2 separate regions of the Homo sapiens genome follow, and region 2 is linked to region 1. Evidence: promoter capture Hi-C in 16 types of primary human blood cells and fetal thymus (Javierre and others, 2016). All regions are on one chromosome and are shown on one strand. The core of a region is centred on a gene start or on the middle of the fragment in contact, and the rest is flanking DNA. Distances in the headings are between cores, read along the strand shown.

Region 1 (3,453 bases), core at 486-2,985:
CCCTAATGAGGCTACACACCTTGCTGGGAGGCCACTGTGAGAAAGGGTGCAGCATTTCTATAAGCTCTGTTCTCCACCCCATGATCCAAATCTCAAACAAAACACTGGATTCTCAAGAGCGTGTCCTCAAACTACATTGTGCAAATTACATAATGGTATGTGAAATCATATCTCATCGCAAACAATTTTTCAGGAGTTCTCGGTGTTCTCTCAAACACTTTCGGCAACAATGCTCACTTATCTGCAGGCAGGCTAGTTACTGCTAAACACTGGGCCCCAGTCTGGAGCTCTTAGTTTTCCCAAAAGCATCTCAAAACTCACCCTGAACAAAGACAGAGAGGCGAGAACATGCTATGTCTTTGTCACCTCTTAATCTTGATGTGTCTACACTTTTTTTTGAGTGTGGGAGCAATATAGAGTGCACATTCTTTTAGCGATAACAAGAAAACCCGCTAGAACTTCTTTCAGCGTAAAAAAAATGGCTCAAAGCTTATAAAATACTATTGTTATTAGGAAATTCAAAAACACTTTTCTCACTTTCTAATTAGCGCCTTTACAGGCTAAAAACAACTCATCTGTGCTGCTCTTGGGGAAAGGGATACAGAAAATATTTGACCAAATAAATTAATCAAATTTATTTATTTGGTCAAGTGGCCAGATACTTAAAAATAGACTACTAGTGGGGAAAATATTCTAGGGGAGCAACCTTCTTGCAGTGGATCAGAAATCTCGTTAAGAAATACTGGGATCCCACAGTGTTCGAGGGAGCCCGGTCCTGGGGAGGGATCTCTCTCTTCAACTCACTTAGAAGGAATGGGTTCTAGGTAACAACAAAATCCTCTCCATGTCCCCTCCCCCGCCACCACGCGGAGCCTCTGCTATTGTCACCATATATCTCGCACCCTGCGCACCTCCTGGACACAAGGCCGGGCCGGGGGCTGCTGGTACTGATTCTCTGCTAAACATGCCAAGGGACTGCCTGGGCTTTTCTCTACATCACTTTTCTCGCCTGTAAAATGTGCAAGAAAAAAACTTCCAACAAAGCAAAACTTCAGCGGCAGCGGTTCGCCACTTTATATTTTAAAGATCGAAACGTTTATTGGTGGAGCAACGTGAGAGCTTTTCTTTTTGGGGGTGGTCCTGGGAGAAACACAATGACAAGTGCAACGCAGGACTGCAGGCTCCCCCAGGGGGCTTCCGCTCCATCCTCCTCCATATCCAACACCCCGTGGCAGGCGGGCTGCACCCTCCAAGATCGAGTCCAAAGGGGCATCGGCTGGGCCCGCGAAGGGGGTGGCACGCCCCACCTAAACGTGACTGGAAAAAACTCCAGATCTCAGCCCAAATGCCAGTTTGGCTTTCGGAGGAAACTGAGGCAGGGGTGAGGAGAAGGCGCAACAGTGACCCCCGCAGTCTCCCCTCGGCGTCCCTCCGCCCGCGCACCCCATTCCCGTGCATCTCTCACCTGGCCTGCGGGCCCGGGTGCGGGCAGACAACAGCGGGCCGCACAGACTGAAGCAGGCGGCCACCAGCAGCAGCCGCCGCGGCCCCATTGTCCCGGGCTCTGCGCGGCGCTGCTCCGGGAGGCTGCCCCGCCTCGGGCTGCTCCGCTTCACCCTCTCTCCTGACTTCTGCGGGTCGGGGAGCCGGTCTTCGCGGCAGGCAGAGCGCAGGGTGCCCACGGGTAAGATCAGGGTCCAAGCGACCCTCGGCGAGCGCTGTGTCTGGGGCGGTTAGCGGGGCGGGGCGGGACTGGGGCGCGCGGTCGCGCGGGCGCGAGCGAGGAAGGGCGCCCTCCGGCGTGCAGTGAGAGTCTCTGCGCTGGAGCCGCTCGGCGCCCCCTCCCCGCGGTCCCTCAGCCGCCGCTCGCAAGCCCCTCTGGCTCTGTGCGCCCCGCCCCGCCCCGCCCTGCCCTACTGGGGGGCCCTGGCCGCCGGCCACTGCCGGGCCTAGAAGTCCAAATGAGAAGTTTTTTCCTCTGGGCACCGTTGATTCGCGAAGCTGTCAGTGACTCACACTGGCGGGGTCCTTGGAATGGGGCCGCACGGCTCGCAGGCTGCTTCCCGCGGCCGTCTCGACCCTCCTGGGATGTGGAGACGTCGACAGTGGACGCCCCGGCCAGGATGCGTCCACGCCCTGCAGCCCCGCAGCCCTGGCGTGGCCTCCCGTCCTCCCTCCCTCCGTGTGGGACACCGGCAAAGTTCAGTTTTCGCTAAAAGTCTAAAAGGGACTTCTGCTTTTGTAACGTGGGGATCACGGATTTAAAAGTTTATGATGTAGTGACAGGGTTGCCCCTAAATGAGAAAGGGCCCTTGAGTCTGGACAGAATTCTTGAACTTTTATACGTCTCTCTTTATTTCGCGAAGTTAGGCGTTTCATACGCCGGGCACTCGTTTCCCCCACACGCAGACTGCGAGTGGAATAGGAAGAGCGGCTTCTCCCGCTTCCCCCCCGCGCGGCCTCGCGGAGCTCTTCCCTTTCCCGCGCCGCCCGCCGGGGTCACCTGCGCATCTGGGAGGAGGGCGCGCGTCTGCCGGTGAGGCCGGCGTTCTAGGGCCGCGGGCGCCCAGGAGAGAAATGGCCTGGTAACTTTCCAAGTGTCCTTCACACGTTCTTGAACGATATTACAGTTTGTTTTGTTTTTGAGGCAGGGTCTTGCCCTGTCGCCCAGGCTGGAGTGCAGTGGCGCCAACACGGCTCACTGCAGCCTCGATCTCCCTGGCTCAGGCCACCCTTTCGCCCCAGCCTCCGGATTACCTGGGACCACAGAAAGGCGCGCGCCACCATGTCCGGCTAATTTCACTGCTGGCCTCAAGCGATCCTCCTGCCTCAGCCTCCTAAAGTGCGGGGATTACAGGCGTGAATCACCGCGCCAGGCCTGATATTAAAGGAGTTTGGCTAAATTCAAGGCACAGGGCGGGGACACTCGCTTGGCAGTCTGCTAAGGGCCCCCAGGGGCGTCGCGGCTGGGGGTGGGCAGGAGGAGCCTGCAGCTTAAGTTGCTTTGCCACTGGCTCTGGTGCGTGCGCCTTTCAGACTCCAACAGGAAATGGGTCCCCAAATAGCTGTTTCTAGGAAAGCTCAGCCGCAGCCCCTTCTCCTCTTAACCCAGCGCACTGATGTGCGGGCATATTCGGAGTTCTGTGGTTGATAAGCTGCAGCTGAGAGCCGGTGGTCAGTTTTCTAAGCCTTTTTTAAAAGTGAATTTCGCACGAAGAGTATCATTCCCCCACTAGAGCCCGGACACTTACATCCGTGGAGAAAGTACGATCAGAGGCGATTTCGTTCTTCCCTGTATTCTCCCATCATCCTCAAAGGACAGTACCTTGTTGTACACAGAAGTTGATCACTAAATTGCGGAAGTACCCAGTTAAATAAAGCTTTTTAAAATCTATCCCCGTTCAGTTATCCTCTGGAAACATACCCAAGAGTAAATGTGAACAGTTAAAATTA
Region 2 (3,453 bases), core at 640-3,139, 100 kb before region 1:
GTCAGTGTTACTTCACTAACCCTTTGGGAAAGTTACTTTGCAAGGGAATAAAAGTATGGTGGGGGGAGGATGAGGAACAAGGTGCAATATTAAGTGGCTATAGTTAACAAGTAACCTGATTTTTCCTTATTGTTAAATCAAGTTCGCCTTATAATCCAGGGATCTCCCAATCCCCCAAGAGTAGTAAACAAGAACAAGACAAATAATCGGGGCATGCTTCCTACAGGGATCTCTGAATCATAAAGATGTTGAATCAGCTATACCAACATGTATTTTTTTAAAGTTTGCACATACTAACCTTTGCTCCTGAATTTTAAGTTTCCAACTTTAAAGGACATAGAGGAGAGGTGTCCATTACAGTTTTCAATACTTCCTGGAACTAAATGCCTTTATTCTGATGCTGATTAAGAAAAAAAAATATACCAGCGGTGCACAGTTTTCAAGCTTACACCATTAACACCCTTTTCCCTAACTGCAGAGGGAAAAGAATCACATTCTTCCATCTAATTCCAACCCACTGTGACTTGCTCTTTTACTTCGTCTTTATGAAGAGGAGGATAAAAGTGAGAAATGCGCATTTCTGAGGGAAATTAAAAGCTCCCTTTGCTACCCAGGCTGCCCCAAACAGAGGGGCCTCGGTTAGGATCACAGTGGCGCGATCGCAGGTCAAACATCCCCCACGGCCACAGCGAGGCCTGCTGGGCCCGGAAGAACACACTCCCAGCAATACAAGTTCGAGCACACCCGGAGCAGCACATCCAAGGAACGCGACGGCCGGGCGCAAGTGCTGCTCTGTTCCCAGGCCAGCCAGCCTCTGGCCTGCAGACCTGGGTGGCAGCCAGTGGCCGCTCCGGGTGGCACACTAGGAAAGTCCCGGAACCCCAGGCCCAGAGGGTCAACTGGTCAAATATAAGGCAGGGTCCAAAAAGTTCCGCTCGTAAATCCTCGTGGCGCCCAACGGGCCTGAGCGCTCATTACCACCAGAACCCATCAGGGACCGGCCCTGACTTTCATACCCCGGGCCTTCCACTGTGGGTGCCAGGAGCAGCGGGACCCGGGTGGGTCTCGAACGCAGGGGCCAGAACCCGAAGAAAGGCTTCCAGCAGTTGGAGAGGGACGCAAAAAACAACCTAGAAGGCTCCCGGGCCGCGGGTTCCCACCCACTCCGCCCTGCCCTGCGCAATCAGCTCGCTAACCCCACCGGCCCCGCGGGGCCAGCGGAGGAAGTCTCCGGAGTTGGCAAAAAGCTCTTAATGACTTAGTGTTTACAAAGCAACCAAGCCCGGGGAGGGGACTAGGTCCTCTGCGTACCCTTTAGACACAGCTACTCCTTCCTTCCCTCCCTTTCCCCGAACCCACGCTGGGGCCTGGAGGTGCCCAGCATGACAGCCTCTACGGGAAGTGGGGTCTTTGGGGAAATCTCTGCCTCTGCCCGGCTCCGCTGACTTCAGCTGCTCCCGCATGTCCCACCTGGGTGCCTCCTTGGCGCAGAGACCTCACATCAAAGCCACCAAGGGGAGGCTAAGGGATTCGTAGAGATGGGTGCCGGCAGCAGAACAGCCTTCGCACACCTGCCCGGATCCCACCGTCTGCCCAGCGTGCCCAGGACCCCAGCTCCTCAGAGATAAGAGCCCTCCTTGGCCAGGTTTCTCACCTTGGATGGTGCCACTGCAGGAGAGAGAGGCTGCTAGCAGGATGGCGGCCCCCAGCAGCCACGCCGCGCTGGGGCTCCGCATCCTCCTGGAAGCCCCGACGCCGGGCGCGCGGGGAATCCGCCGCCGCCGATTCGAAACTCAGAGCTCCACTGGACGCACCGAGAGAAAGTCAGCCTCTCACCTGCCCCGAATCGGAGCCTCTGCTGCGCGCCTCCCCAGGGCGGGTTAGGTTTCAGGGAAACCGAAGGAGCAGCGTACTCACCTGCGGGAGGCCACGCCCCGGGACCGGAACGCGCGCCCTGGTCCCGCCCCCGGCCCCCTTCCCTGCGCAGCTGCGCCCTCCGCTTCCCGGACTCGCGCCAGGTCCCTTAGACTGCGGGAGCCGCCTGCGGGCGGGGTTGAGCGCATGAGGTGTCTGCTTTGGAATGCAAATAGCAGGAGCGCTGGGACCACGGGTTAATCCCTGCCTAGGCTATACCGCGAACTACCTTTAATCTTTACTTACTCCTAGAGAAGCGGGTCGTCGGTCTCCCTTGCCTTTCCTGACTGTGGGAAAGCCACGATTCGTACTCACTGCAATTGTGGTTGGTAACTGATACAGACAGGGCTTCCCGGTGCGGTGGACCCTGCAGGAGGAGGGATGCGTTTTTTATTGTAGAGGCAGGTGGGCAACTGCGGACATCACGAAAGCGGTGGGGAGCACAAGAGGCGGGGCGGGAAAGAAGACATGGAATGGCTACTTTCAGCGCCAAGTGCCAAAGCTTTAGAGAATTATCTTGCTTAATCCCCATAACAACCAGCGCAATAAGTATGATTATTCTTCCCATTTTACAGACGAGGAAAGTGAGCTTAGAAAGACCAGATAAATTGGCCAGAGTTACACGACTTATAAACACAGTGTATAAATGTTTATCACATTTCAACTCCAGTATAAGACTATCACTGTCTTCTATTCATCGCTGCACTATAAATGCGTCCACCAGGGCTCCTCTGCATTGGGATCCCATAGGCTAAATAAATACAAAAGCAGATAGAAGGGGTGGGAGAAGAGAAGTGTGGGGTTGGGGATGAGTGCATGAGGGTTGGCATCATATTGGTAATGTCTTACTTTTTGTTTTTGAGACGGAGTCTCGCTCTGTCTCCCAGGCTGGAGTGCAGTGGCGTGATCTCGGCTCACTGCAAACTTTGTCTCCTGGGTTCAAGCAATTCTCTGGCCGCAGCCTCCCGAGTAGCTGGAGTTACAGGCGTGCACCACATCTGGCTAATTTTTGTATTTTTAGTAGAGGCGGGGTTTCACCATGTTGGTCTGGCTAGTCTCGAACTCCTGACCTCGTGATCAGCCCACCTCCGCCTCCCAAAGTGCTGCGATTACAGGCGTGAGCCACCGCACCCAGCATGTCTTACTTTTTATTTGCTTTTTAAAAGATTGAATAAAACAAAGTCTACTGTTACCCATTTAAACTATTGGTACCAGAAGAGCACAGAAGAGAGACATAGGTATTTTCAAATATTTAAAGGATTCGCTTGTAGAAGAGGATTTAGATGTGTTTTGAGTTGCTCCAGAGAGCAAAAATTGGTGGAAGCCACAGTGGGGTTTAATTTCAGCTCAATGTATAAAGAAATTTTCTTTATTTTTTATTTTAATTTCTATTAGAAAATAGAAGTGGGGTCTCCCTATCTTGTCCAGTCTGGTCTGGAACTCCTGGCTTCATGTGATCCTCCCCACTCAGCCTCCCAAAGTGCTGGGATTACAGGAATGAGCCACCACACCCGGACAGGCTTCTCCCCTTGTTGACAT

What was found. The method cuts DNA at HindIII sites, captures the fragments that hold promoters and counts their contacts. A CHiCAGO score of 5 or more calls a contact.
Region 2: a contact is called between the fragment with the promoter of F2RL1 here and the fragment with the promoter of F2R in region 1, in 1 of 17 cell types (endothelial precursors). The highest score is 5.0, in endothelial precursors.

Annotation. Positions count from the first base shown.
Region 1 is chr5:76,714,408-76,717,860 of GRCh38, reverse strand. It overlaps F2R (coagulation factor II thrombin receptor), which reads right to left and starts at 1,735. Exons shown (of 2, transcript NM_001992.5): 1 at 1,466-1,735. The coding sequence starts at 1,553. RefSeq lists a silencer at 1,680-1,929. The HindIII fragment of the contact is 2,891 bases long and covers 492-3,382 here.
Region 2 is chr5:76,817,466-76,820,918 of GRCh38, reverse strand. It overlaps F2RL1 (F2R like trypsin receptor 1), which reads right to left and starts at 1,889. Exons shown (of 2, transcript NM_005242.6): 1 at 1,655-1,889. The coding sequence starts at 1,736. RefSeq lists enhancers at 938-1,555, 1,556-2,173 and a silencer at 1,861-2,155. The HindIII fragment of the contact is 1,972 bases long and covers 447-2,418 here.